3 separate regions of the Homo sapiens genome follow, and regions 1 and 3 are each linked to region 2. Evidence: promoter capture Hi-C in 16 types of primary human blood cells and fetal thymus (Javierre and others, 2016). All regions are on one chromosome and are shown on one strand. The core of a region is centred on a gene start or on the middle of the fragment in contact, and the rest is flanking DNA. Distances in the headings are between cores, read along the strand shown. Region 1 holds the start of SART3 (spliceosome associated factor 3, U4/U6 recycling protein). Region 2 holds the start of TMEM263-DT (TMEM263 divergent transcript). Region 3 overlaps C12orf75 (chromosome 12 open reading frame 75).

Evidence for each region. Contacts are between HindIII fragments. The CHiCAGO score rates a contact against its expected background, and 5 or more counts as called.
Region 1: a fragment that was not itself captured here is called in contact with the fragment with the promoter of TMEM263-DT in region 2 in 1 of 17 cell types (naive CD4 T cells); the score reaches 6.8 in naive CD4 T cells.
Region 3: a fragment that was not itself captured here is called in contact with the fragment with the promoter of TMEM263-DT in region 2 in 1 of 17 cell types (fetal thymus); the score reaches 5.1 in fetal thymus.

Annotation. Positions count from the first base shown.
Region 1 is chr12:108,560,379-108,564,534 of GRCh38, reverse strand. SART3 (spliceosome associated factor 3, U4/U6 recycling protein) reads left to right here and starts at 3,362. Exons shown (of 19, transcript NM_014706.4): 1 at 3,362-3,692. The coding sequence starts at 3,381. ISCU (iron-sulfur cluster assembly enzyme) reads right to left here and starts at 1,939. Exons shown (of 5, transcript NM_213595.4): 1 at 1,799-1,939; 2 at 143-256. The coding sequence starts at 1,912. RefSeq lists silencers at 710-759, 1,720-1,839 and enhancers at 1,450-1,519, 2,050-2,129, 2,200-2,259, 3,114-3,213, 3,224-3,283. The HindIII fragment of the contact is 633 bases long and covers 2,018-2,650 here.
Region 2 is chr12:106,953,302-106,957,488 of GRCh38, reverse strand. TMEM263-DT (TMEM263 divergent transcript) reads left to right here and starts at 1,994. Exons shown (of 1, transcript NR_185933.1): 1 at 1,994-3,976. TMEM263 (transmembrane protein 263) reads right to left here and starts at 1,582. Exons shown (of 4, transcript NM_152261.4): 1 at 1,424-1,582; 2 at 340-407. RefSeq lists enhancers at 635-694, 1,624-1,918 and a silencer at 1,195-1,954. The HindIII fragment of the contact is 6,686 bases long and covers 1-4,187 here.
Region 3 is chr12:105,332,591-105,336,652 of GRCh38, reverse strand. All of the region lies in intron 1 of C12orf75 (chromosome 12 open reading frame 75), which reads right to left. Among named protein-coding and RNA genes, the nearest start is that of C12orf75, 3.9 kb to the right of the region's middle. The HindIII fragment of the contact is 596 bases long and covers 2,466-3,061 here.

The DNA.
Region 1 (4,156 bases), core at 1,085-3,584, 1.6 Mb before region 2:
TCATCCCATCTCACAGGAATGGAGACCAAGTGAAATGCTTGGAGATCTCACAGGAATAAAGATGGAGACCAAGTGAAATGCGCAAGTGCTTTGTAAACTTAAAGGGATTATTGTTATCACTATTAAAAAAGACTAGCCATACCTGTAATTTCATTACGTCACCACATGCTGGAGCCCCCACCAGTCCAGTTCCAACATTTTTAGATGTCTTGTCAAGGGACCCCACGTTTCTAGGATTTTCATAATGATCAACAACCTAAAATGAGAGGGTTAAGATAAATCATGTTCACTCTCTATTGGTACTGGTCTCTGGTTTGATGGTAAGCTCCTCGGTCAGCATCTTGAACCTGGCAGGCAATCACTAAATACCAAATTTCACCTGAGTAGAAAGGTCTACACTCATGTCAATGAGAACCATTTGTGACCCCCAATTCCTTTTGTGTCTCCTCTACAATACTTCACAGATTTGAGATACCTAGAAGAAAAAAAAATCAGTGAAATCATGTCTTAGTTCCATAGGATTTTTACAAAAATACTTGACTTTCACCCACCTACATCACCAGACTTGGGCTCAAACAGCAGTTTTGTTATTTTCAAATAAAATCCATCCTCAAAGGATGATTACTATTTAAAAATTCTAAAAATAACCATGGCCCAGGGAGGGAAAGCTTTCTTAGAAGCCTTAAGGTGACTGTTACACAGGGAACAATGCTATGGAATGTGTACGTTTATGTGTCTTTTAAAATAAAAACAGTGCCATTACCGTATTTCACAGCCTGTCATCACCCTGGTGCAGCAGCGCACCCTGGCTGCTGAAAGGCTGCTAGTCCAAGTTTCTTCAGGGTGTACCCTCAACAAAACACACCCCCGGGAGGGGGAGGAGTGAAGAAGCCCTTGGAGAAAGGGCAGAAGCCAGATCACAATAAACATCCATTCGAACTGGCACACAGAAGGCCTTAATAACCTTGAGGTTTGGTTACTGGTTAGTAGTAAGCACGCCGATCTTCCAGTCCCCTTTTCCCCCCATCTGACTAAGGATTTTGACTCCAAGTAAAAGGGACCTCAGGATAGTATCTAATGTAGGGGCCTTTTGTGCCACGTTGATTTATGGCATTCTTTAGTTGTTTCTCGAGTGGGAGTCTCACGTCTGGGGGACTTTGTGCCACCAGACAGCAAGGGGCTGCAGACTATGAATCTATCCCTCCTTCCCCGCCAAAAAACCCCCCAAACAAAACAAAAACATTACGCATGTTGGTTACAAGCCTGACTCCCCTATGCACTCCTAAAGCAGTAACAGAAACGGTCTCCTCGTGCTGGGGCCTATGTGCCAGGAACCATGCCAGGACTCCACGCACAGTATCCTTTGTAAGGGACAGCTGAGAGCCCCCCATTTACACCTGGGGAAACAGGTTCAGAGAGGCGCAGTGACTAGCCCAAGGTCATCTGGCCAGGGCAGCGGAGTGGCTGAAGCCGGAGCCCGCTCCGGGGGTGTGTCTGTCCCTGGACTCAGAAAGACAAGTCCCAACAGGACCCTGCCTCCTGGGCTGTTGGCGAATTTAAAATTGGGACGCACGAAGTCGCGGCCAGCGGCGGGGCCCCCTGGAAGTCGCCGCCCGATGAGCGGTAACTGTTGTTTATCAGTTGCAGTGAGCCTCACTGCGCAGCAAGGGAAAGCGAGTCAGGGCAAAGACGTGGGAGGGGACAGCTCCCAGTCCTAGCTGCGCAGAACCCCGCGGCCGCCCCTCCAGCCCAGGCCTCCGCTGAGTCGGCATTCCGCGCGTCCCTCTTTTGTCCCTACCTTCTTGTGATAGAGTCGGGCCGGGGCCGACAGCTCCCGGGCGGGCAGGCGGGGGCTCCGCAGCAGCAGAGCCGATGCCGCCCGCCTCAGACGGAAAGCCCCAGCCGCCGCCATCTTGCCGGCTTGCGCCTGCGCCAGTCCAGAGCGACGCCGAGGGGCGGGGCGCGTCTGCGAGTCGGCTCCGAGCTGGGAGCGCGCCTCTCTGACGTCACCGAAGCTTTGCGCCTGCGCTTTACCGCTCCGTGCACGCGTCCGCCTTCTGGCCCCGCCTTGACCACGCCTCTCGGGGGCGGGCGGGGTCGGGAGCGGGAAGGTCTGAAGTCGCTGGAGGGCTTGTCCTGGGTGCTGGATTCTGGTTGAGACAGGACCTCAGGGCTTCTGCAGTGTGGGGCTCAAGTTCGCTTTCACAAATCCCGCTGCGGGAATGCGGCGCAGAGGAGCACCGAGTCCACTTTTCCTAACCCTATTTTGCAGCTAAGGAAGCCGAGATTCAGGGCAGTTTAGTAAGTCCGTCCAAGGTCGCTAAGGACTTATGTTCAATTAGAATTCGAACTTGGGTAATCCTGGGTTAGAATCCTGGTTCGGTTCCTTCCTGGCTGTGTGTCCCTAGACGAATGGTACCGGCTCGCTGAGTCTGAATCTTCCCTTTTGTATTAATTCGAGGACAATTGCTTCATCATGAAGCCAGCATCTGTGTCGAGTACCTACTATGTGTCAAGGCGCTCTACTAGACCCGGGGATCCAACGGAAAGCAAAACAGACATAATTCCTGCCCATTAAGCCTGCTAATGAGGGAGCAAGGTAGAGATAGAGACACACACCAATACTTTCCTACCTCAAAAATGGGAAGCTTAAGAAGGAAACGAATACCATGTCCTGATTGAAAAAAAATGAATATGTCTATTTTTCTCTCTAAAACAACAGCAAACTCAATTTATATGTCAGTGCCTAGCAATTAAGAATTTCTAAAGAAATGCGTATTAATGTAATTTACTGTTGGTTTGCAGTATGTGATCTTATAAAACCGGAAAACTCACGTGTATTTAACGTCTACTAGGTACCAGACGTTTACATAAAGGGGAGGAATCTGGGAAATGGATTTTTCTCTTGAATGGTGAAATCGATCCTTCCCCGAGGACCTGCAGTTTTCTTTGCGTTTGAGGCGCAGTTGCTGGGGAGAGTAAACCCAAGCGCCAGGTCACACTAGGCGATAAGTAAGGCATTTAATCGAAGAATCACTTTGACCTTCTCAAGATGGCGCCAAATTCTTCACTACAGACATCACTCTCGCTCCATGACTTCCTCTATGGCTTCCACTTCCTGCCCAAAGACCCAACTTCTGTCCGAAGTTGTGACGGAACGCATGCCATTATAATGAGTTTTTATATCTGGTGGGAGCTTTTACAGGGTATAAAATAATGTGAATTTAGTGTATGTGGAGATTTTCCTGTTATCTAAGTTCCCAGTTTCTCTTTCAATGGCAAGAAAACGGGTTTTTGATAAGGCGCGCGCCGCGGGCAGCTTCTGCCTCAGCGGGTCTTCGGCGGCCGCGGGAAGACCCGAGAGTCATTAGAAGCGCAAGATGGCGACTGCGGCCGAAACCTCGGCTTCAGAACCCGAGGCTGAGTCCAAGGCTGGGCCCAAGGCTGACGGAGAGGAGGATGAGGTTAAGGCGGCTAGGACAAGGAGGAAGGTGTTATCGCGGGCTGTGGCCGCTGCGACATACAAGACCATGGGGCCAGCGTGGGATCAGCAGGAGGAAGGCGTGAGCGAGAGCGATGGGGATGAGTACGCCATGGCTTCCTCCGCGGAGAGCTCCCCCGGGGAGTACGAGTGGGAATATGACGAAGAGGAGGAGAAAAACCAGCTGGAGATTGAGAGACTGGAGGAGCAGGTGGGCCCGGGGGTGGGCAGCGGGCATCTTCCAGTCTTTCAGGTCCTCGGGTCCCCATGTCCTGGCCCGCCTCCCTAGTCCTCGGCGGCGATAAAGCCGCCAAGGCTGCAAACCCGCTTTTCGTGACAGTAGCTCCTGTCGGATTTGAGTGCTTACTGCCTGCCCATTGCCTTGCAAACGTTATCTCATTGAATCCTCGCCACGACCCTGTGAAGGAAGCCCTGTTATCTATCCCCATTTTACTGGAGGAAACTGAGGCTCGTGGAGGAAAGTTTCTTGCTCAAGATAACACTTCCTGCAAGTCAGGCCTTGTACTTTGATCCCATTCCAGAACTCCCACTCTTAACCACACGTCCAACAGTAGAAATAAACTCATTCGCAAGAGAGTGTTATTTTGTTATGTAGGAATGACGGCGATGATGAAACTTGTGGTAAGAAAAATATTGACCGCGATGGTGATAATA
Region 2 (4,187 bases), core at 745-3,244:
GTAAAGATTTTCCTGTAGTTAAAAAAAAAAAAATCAAACCCATGCACACACAAAGAAATCTGTATATTTGTCCAATGTAGCAACCGTTATAATTTCTAACGATGCTTTCTATAAATGGACAAATTTTTACTGAACTTGGTTTCTGGTACATCTGTTCTAACAAAGACTAAAGAAATGAAAGTGGAAAAAGCAAAACAGGATGCATATGGGTTTATCAAAGGCTACTTCTCCCTTTCTTTTTAAAAAGTTAAGCATGGGCGCGAGCGCGCACACACATACACACACACACACACACACACACACACACACACACACACACACACGGGCGCGCGCGTTTACCTGTTGGTGTTGTATCGATATTCCTGGGGAACCCCTGAGGGCACTCACACCAGCAGAAGTTTCAAAGGCTAAACAATAGCATACAGCAAATAATCACATATAGCAAATATTTTCATTTGGAATTAGCACAGTGTTCACAAGGACGCAAAAATCAAATTAAGAACCCTTCCCTTTTCTCTAGGTGTTTCTAAACCCTTCCGGGTGGCCCCTTCTCTCCCTACTGATCCCTTTAGGCACTAGCAAATCTTTTTTTTTTCTTTAGCAGTGAGTGACGTGGCAGGAGGCAGAAAATGACCCTGGAGGCGCCGTGGCTAGCACTGAGCTTGGCACCTCCTCCCTCCGCTCCACGTTGTACACCCAGCACTCCCCCCACTCCCGAAGGGCTCCAGAATTTCTATGTAAGAAGGGTTTAGGACAGGCGATCTGATTGGAAGTGGGAGCTGGGGGGTCGGTCTTGAAGCTGCGTGTGCAGAGCAGGCAGTTTTTATTTAGACTGGGAGGCAGTGACGGCACGGATGGGTGCTCCAGCCCTCCCTGTCACCCCTGGGCGCGGCCAGCACCCTCTCCATTCCCACTTTTACTTTAGGTTAGGCGTGGAGATACAGCCTTCCTACCCAGGAAGAGCTATGGGGGTGTCCACTGGGAAAAAGTCTTGTGTGCCTGAACCCAAAAGGGAGGTTTAGCAACAGGTCAGGAGTTGGCAGGGCGAGGAAGCCCGGTACCCAAGCCCCTCCGCTGCATCCCTCTCCCAGGCTGCTGATGCCCCTCACCTTCCTCCTCCGCCCCCAACCCCGAACCCCCAGATGCTAAGAAGTCAGGCGGAGGCTTTCCAGGGGTGCGCAAGCTCCAATCGCGGCGGGGCAGTCAGCGACGTATAAGGAGGAGTAGCCCCAGAAGCGAACCTCCATCCGCCCCCAACTTCGTCCCGCCCCTCCCCCTTTCCCGCTGGGGCCTCGCCAAGGCCCCGCTGGGCAGCCAGGCCGGGCACTGGGAGGTGAGGGGCAGGGGCGCCGACGGCAGAGGGCGACGGAGGAGGGCAGGAAGCCGGGACTGCGCCCCTGCCCTCGCATCCCGACTCACTCACCGCCGGGGTCGCGGCCAGCGCTAGGGCTGGGGCCGGGCGGAGTGAGCGGGCCGGCGCAGAGGAGAGCTGAGGCGGCCTGGGCGGCAGCGGCGGCCGGCACAACCCCGGGCAGTCGCGGCTCCAGAGGCGTCCTCTCAGGATGTGGAGCTGGAAGACTGTGGCGGCGGTGGTGGAGGCGGAGGCCTCTGGCTGCGGACGTGGCGCCCGACGCGACCCGCCCCCTCCGCCGCCTCCTCAGCTCCCGCCTCCTCCCGCGGCTCCAGTTCCGACGCGCACGCGCGCTCGTGCAGCCCGGGCCCCTCCCGCGCCCACCGGGCACACGCCCACCCGTTCTCGCAGGGTCCGGCCCTCCCAGCAGTCCCCAGCCGGCTGTGTCCCAATTGCGCACGCGCGACGCTCCGAGGCCCGCTCCCGCCCCTTCGCCCCCTGGACGCCTCCGTGGGAACCCCCGGCCGGCCTGCGCGCCCCTCCTCCGGGGGTCTCCCCGCCTTCTTCCCGCCACCATCCAATCAAATCGGGCGAGGGGCGCGAAGCCCGGGAGACGCGTAGGCCGCGGCCCCCAGGCCCGGTGTTTTGACGTCGGCGGTGCCCGCGTTCCGCGCCGAGTAACGGTCTTCGGAATTCAGAGCCTTCGCCTTAGGGAAGGTGGGACGGTCGCCAGTTTCTCCAGCACTTTCTTCGTCCAGGGACGTCAACCTCCCTTGCATGCTGTCCTCAGGGACTGACAGCGGGGCCTGCTCAGAAGTTCTCGTCGGGACTCTCTACAGGCCTTTGTGATTAAGTGCTAGGGGTGAGGAGAGACGTGGCTTATTTATGTGTTTTTCAGTTTGTTATGATTTTTTTTTTTTTAATTTTACTTCTCCCTGCCCTAGAATTGAGCTCCTTGAGAGTAAAAACCCGCCTGGGTCGCCATCACCCTAGGCTTGGTGCAGGGCCTGCCAGGCGCTCGAATTTGTTGAAGAGGTGGGTGTTCAGTATCGAAAGAGCCGCGGATTGTACATTAGAAAGCCTGGCTTTGCGCCGCGTCCTTGCCACTTGCTGACCAGGCCCCTCCACGTGGTCCCCGCCGGGGCAGCAGCTCTCCTCACCCGTCCAAAGGCACGGGGAGGCGCGTGGCGGCCCCGCCAGAGCTGAGCCCCCTGGGATGTGAGGCCGTCTCGCTCTGAGCTTCAGAGCAGGGTTGCAGGAGACACCTCAGAAGGTCGTTTTGAGGACGGGAGGAGATGAACTGCTCAAAGCCTGCTTAACTAGATAAATGGTATCGATTAACTTTTCTTTGACTCCCTTTCCACACCTATAAAATGAAGATGACGGGAAACTTGTCATACTTTTTTTGTGGTGGGTGGGAAAGGTCTTTATGAACTGTGAAGTCCTATGCAAACGTGAGATGTTTCCTTTCGCAATCTGATTAGCGAAGCAAAAACACGCGAGTCAAAAACATACACAGAAAGCAAAAAAAAAAAATTCACAAAATGGTTTATCAACTGCAGAATATTCAGGATGGTGGAACTGAATGGTAACTACTGACAACATAGCTCAGAAAGGACGTGCTAAAACATGCTGGATGAAGCTAACTTTGATCCAGGTCTTAAATGGAATGGACTATAGTTTATAGCTTCAACCTAATCATTAACTTATGAAATCAGAGAATTAAGGCCACTTAAGCCACTGTGCTCAGACTGTCAAGATATTTAGTTTCTCAAAGCAGAAAGAGGAAATTAAATACTCTTGTCAATTCAACATATGGGTTGGATGATTAGCAGGATCCGTGGATTGTTGTTTATCCAGTATGTGAAGAAACGGATATCCTCTGTTTTCTCGTTATTACACAAACTTCTATCCTTAATATGTGACCTTTCAAGGTTGAACTCTAGGTAAAATTATGAAGTGCACAATTACGTCTTGTTTCTTCTTCCCTTTGCACGTCGTTTTACAAGAGAATCTAATTATTATTAAAGTACAAATGACTGACAAGATTGTAGCCACTCCTGGGAGATTTTGCATTTTTACGGTTATTAAAAGCCATAACTCAAAGCAGCAGTTGAATCTGTTTCATAAACTAACTAAGATTTAAAAGAGCTCCTTTGGGAGGTCATGAGTTCATCAGAAACTTCTGGTGTAGGAGTTCAGCCTATAAAACAAACAAATACATGACTTGTAGTATTTCTTCGTTTTATAGTCTGAACTCCTCTAAGTTCTTGATTCCCATTCTGTGACCTCCCTTTCTTAGATTGTTAAAATAAAATACAGATGACTCACGCCTTTAATCCCAGCACCTCGGGAGGCTGAGTCGGGAAGATCACTTGAGCCTAGGAGTTTAAGACCAGCAAGGGCAACATGGGGAGATCCCATCTCTTAAAAAAATAATAATAATAATTGAGCATGGTGGCACCCTCCTGTAGTCCCAGCTATTTGGGATACTGAAGCAGGAGGATTGCTAGAGCCTGGGAGGTCAAAGCTGCACTGAGCCGTGGTCACACCACTGCATTCCAGCCTGGACAACAGAGTGAGACCCTGTTTCAAGAAAAATAAAATGAAACATTTATTTCTGGATGTTATTTTGAAAGATTTTGTCATGTCTTAATGAGCCCTGGCCACGTAATCACAGCATTTTGGGAGGCCAAGGTGGGAGGATTGCTTAAAGCCAGGAGTTTGAGACTAGCCGGGTCAATATAGTGAGACCCTGTTTCTACAAAAAATAAATAAATAAATAGCCAGGTGTGGTGGCACGCACCTGTAGTCCTAGCTACTTGGGAAGTTGAGG
Region 3 (4,062 bases), core at 1,514-4,013, 1.6 Mb after region 2:
TCTACCCCTCAGGGCCCACAGCCATGATCCAGGCCCTCAGCACTTCTCTGAGCGCAGACAGCAGCTGTGAATGATGCCACTTCTATACGTACACGCCTTCAGTGGCTCACGCCTTCCTTCTACACCAGCTGTGTCTTTCCCTATACTGATAACAAGTAGTATATTGGGTACTTACAATATACGAGTCACTGTTCTAAACACTTTACACACATTAACTCACTGAATCTACAATAGGCTCTCTTATTACACCCCCATTTTATGGTCAAGGAACCTAAGGAACAGACAGCCTCAGCAAATTGCCCAAGGTCATACAAATGATGAATGGCAAATGTAGGATTTGTACTTGGCCTTTTTAGCTGCAGAGCCCACTCTCAACTCTGTGGCCTCAGTGCCTTTCTGTCCTCCTCGTCCCGTATCCTAACCATTCTTTCTTCCCAATACCCTGCAACCAATGTGAACGACTACATCCAATCAGGCTAGACTTCTTACTAACCTGAAATGCGCCAAGCCCATTTCTGTCTCTAGGACTTCCTACAGCACTAAAAATGACCTGCCTTCCATTTTCTGCTATCCAAATCTTACCTATTCTTCAAAGCCAAATAAAGTTCCACTTCCTCCACGCTATTCTTCAAACCCAAATCAAGTTCCACTTCCTCCATGCAGGCTTCCCTGACTTCCTGAGGTTCTATTTTCTTCACTCAATTGCTACATCAGTACAGTGTGCCCACACCAACTTAGGACTTCATTTTGAATCTTTTTTGTTTCCCAAATATACTCATTCATTCAACAAATATATTTCAAGAACCAAAAAATCCATTTAAAATGTGGAAACTGGTCTAGAGGCTGAGGATATGGCTGTAAACAAAATGTATAGGCTTTCATGAGGCCTCCATTTGTGGGAGGGGAAAGGAGACAAGAAATAAACATAGTATCAGCTCTCCAGCAAAAAAGTGTTTCACACAGAGAGAAAACAAGAGTGAGTTCCATTAAAAATGTGGAAACTAGTCTAGAGGCTGAGGATACAGCCGTAAACAAAATGTATAGGCTTTCATGAGGCCTCCATTTGGGGGAGGGGAAAGGAGACAAGAAATAAACATAGTATCAGCTCTCCAGCAAAAAAGTGTTTCCCACAGAGAGAAAACAAGAATGAGTTCAGCATGTTTAAAGAATAGAAAGAAGGATGGTACATACTTGTGGGGAAAGGGGAGTAGTGCAAGATAAAAATGATATCAACAAAATTTTGTATTATTTTTACATTATTTCCCCCACAAATCTTGCACTATTGCTAAACAGAGCTGTATCATTTCAATACTACCAAACCATTTACAGATGTAATTAAGCCTGGACCAATATAGCTACCTCAAAAGAATGCAATTATCTAGCTAATTGAGGACAAGGACATAACTAATCTAAAATATTGGGCCCAAAAGGATTGTATTAACTCCCTGGGATACACTGATAAAATAGGGTAAATAATTATCAAGCTCCTCCCCCTCGGACTATTGTTACATAAACAGCAGAAAACTATTATGGAAACATTCTGACAGTAAGTTGCCTGCAAAGTTAAGATCAGTTACCAATTACATATCTCTGGCAGAAAAAATTCAACTAACCAATTTAACCAAATATCATGAGCTGAATATTTCTGAGATAACTCCTGCTGCAAATAATTTCTACAGCCTTAGCCTGCATTAAAATAGACTACTGTAGATATGGGGAACTATCCAAACTTTTAAGGGATTTTCTGGTTTACATAAAAAGGAATTTCTGATTTACATTACAAAGACTTGCTTCATAGTCTATATGAATGTGACTATATAAAAGGGAATGACCAACCTGCTGACATCATTAACTCAGAATGCAAGGTTGGTCATTTCTCTGCCTAGTCCGGAGACATGCTCGGGGGAAAAACAAGTGAGTAAAGAATCTGACTGCAGAGAAAGAGTGAGAGTGAGCGAGAGTGCAAAAGCTCCCTGCCTTATAACAAATGTGACACTTTAAAATGAACTATTCAATCCCGATGTTTCTCCATAATTTGGGGTCTAGACTCCAGACCATGCAGAAAAAATATGCTGCATCCTTTATATAGTTGCAGGTTGGGAAAAATCAAATTCCTACCTTGAGAGAGTGATGATATCAAAATGTGAAAGTGGAGAGCTTTTGTGTACTCAAAATGCCTCTCACATTTCCATCTAGACCCCCAGCTCAACTCCTCCAGGAGGACTTCTCTGATTTAACTGTGTCATTCAATATCTCCTGGAAACTTGAAGGTCCAGATTATATTCTATTATCCACTGCTTTGCAGTGATTCTCAATTGCTTAATCTTCCTACCTAGACTATCAATTTCTCAAGAGCAACAAAGTTTGACTTCATTCTACAAACATCCATTGCTGGCTGCCCCCAGCGTTGCCCTAGAAGTTCCCAGCAGAGGAGGTCCCACATAGGGGTGGACGATGTGTAAGCTTACAGTTATTAATAGAAACATACTCCAGGGGCAAGTCTACCCAGAATTATCAAGGGGCTGATCCATCTCACTACTCCTTATGGCCACTTGACCCTTTTACTCCATACCAGTTTCTCCATGCATCAGGCATACGGAATCCACTTAACTCAAGTACACTACTGCATATCAATCTGTCATGTTAACCAAGTCCACCAGACAAAAGCCAAGAGAGGCAGCCATCCTGCTATCTCAGGGAAAGGGGAAACAATTATCCAGTTTACCTGAGTAACTCAAAAAGTAAAACAGGGCTCAGAATGGAGATTTCAGATTTAGGGGTATTGTAATAATATGTTAATGCATCAAAAAATATTTGCCATGTTCTTATAGAAAAATATTCAAGGAAAACCACTTTGCCTTCAAAATGGTGATAATAATATTATTATATAGTAATAATTACAGTTTACAGTGTGCTTTCATGTTATTTTTGAGTTTCACATGAGCCTTATGAAACAAGATACACCGAATTATTCCCATTATATAAACAAAGAAACCAAAATTCAAAAAAGTAAAATGAAACACCCACAATAATGCAAACAGCACAGCACCAAACCTAAGCTTAAGCTCACTGTCCAGACTCTTAAGTTCAGCACCCTTTCTACAATCTCTTTGTACATTTTTTTTTTCTGAAAAGTTTGTATGGCTACTGAATTCTATGACTCCTGGGACATATTGGAAGTAGTGCACTGTAAGTAACTAGAAGAGAAAGACAATATCTCTTTAACGCGTTTCGTATTGCTCGGGTTCAGTCCTCCTAGTGTGCAGCTTGGTCAACAGTGCAATTGACGCTGATGCCCAAGCTCACAGCTGAGATTTTCAGTACCTTTGCATTGTGGTTTATTTTTCTTTACATCTCTCATCCTGATGTATTTCCTCTCTGAACCTAAATTCCTAACACCAACTGACAGAACATTTCAAAATAACAATGACCAAATCCCAAAGTCAGCCAGGTGGACTCACAGGCAGGCAAATGTTTGGGAATGGCTTCTCCAAGACAAGGGCATATCCATCAAAGAGGTGATGCAATAACTCCCTGCTCATCATGTTGTCTCCTGCATGTTTTGAATCTGCACTCAATATCCTTCTCTCCTCTGAACAAAAAGTAATTTTTGGCAAACAGCAAGCTGGAGGAGAGAATAGCATGCTCTCACATGCACTGTCCACAAACAAAAGTGAGGCTGCTCCTCAAACTACTCTTTCGGTAGCTTTTTTTTTTTTTTTCAATATGACTTCCCTTTAGGTGATAAGAGAGATGCTCCTAGGGAAAAAGTCAATCAAATATTCATAAAGATAATCATATTTCCCCAAGAAATCATATTTTCCCCCCAAATTTGATTTTTACATTAACATTTTAGAGCTAGCTCATCATACCTTACCATCTTTCTATTTTCTTTTCTTTTCTTTTTTTTTTTTTTTAGATGGAGCGGAGTTCCACTCTTGTTGCCCAGGTTGGAGTGCAATGGTGCGATCTCAGCTCACTGCAACCTCCGCCTCCCAGGTTCAAGCAATTCTCGTGCCTCAGCCTCCCAAATAGCTGGGATTACAAGCAGGCGCCACCACG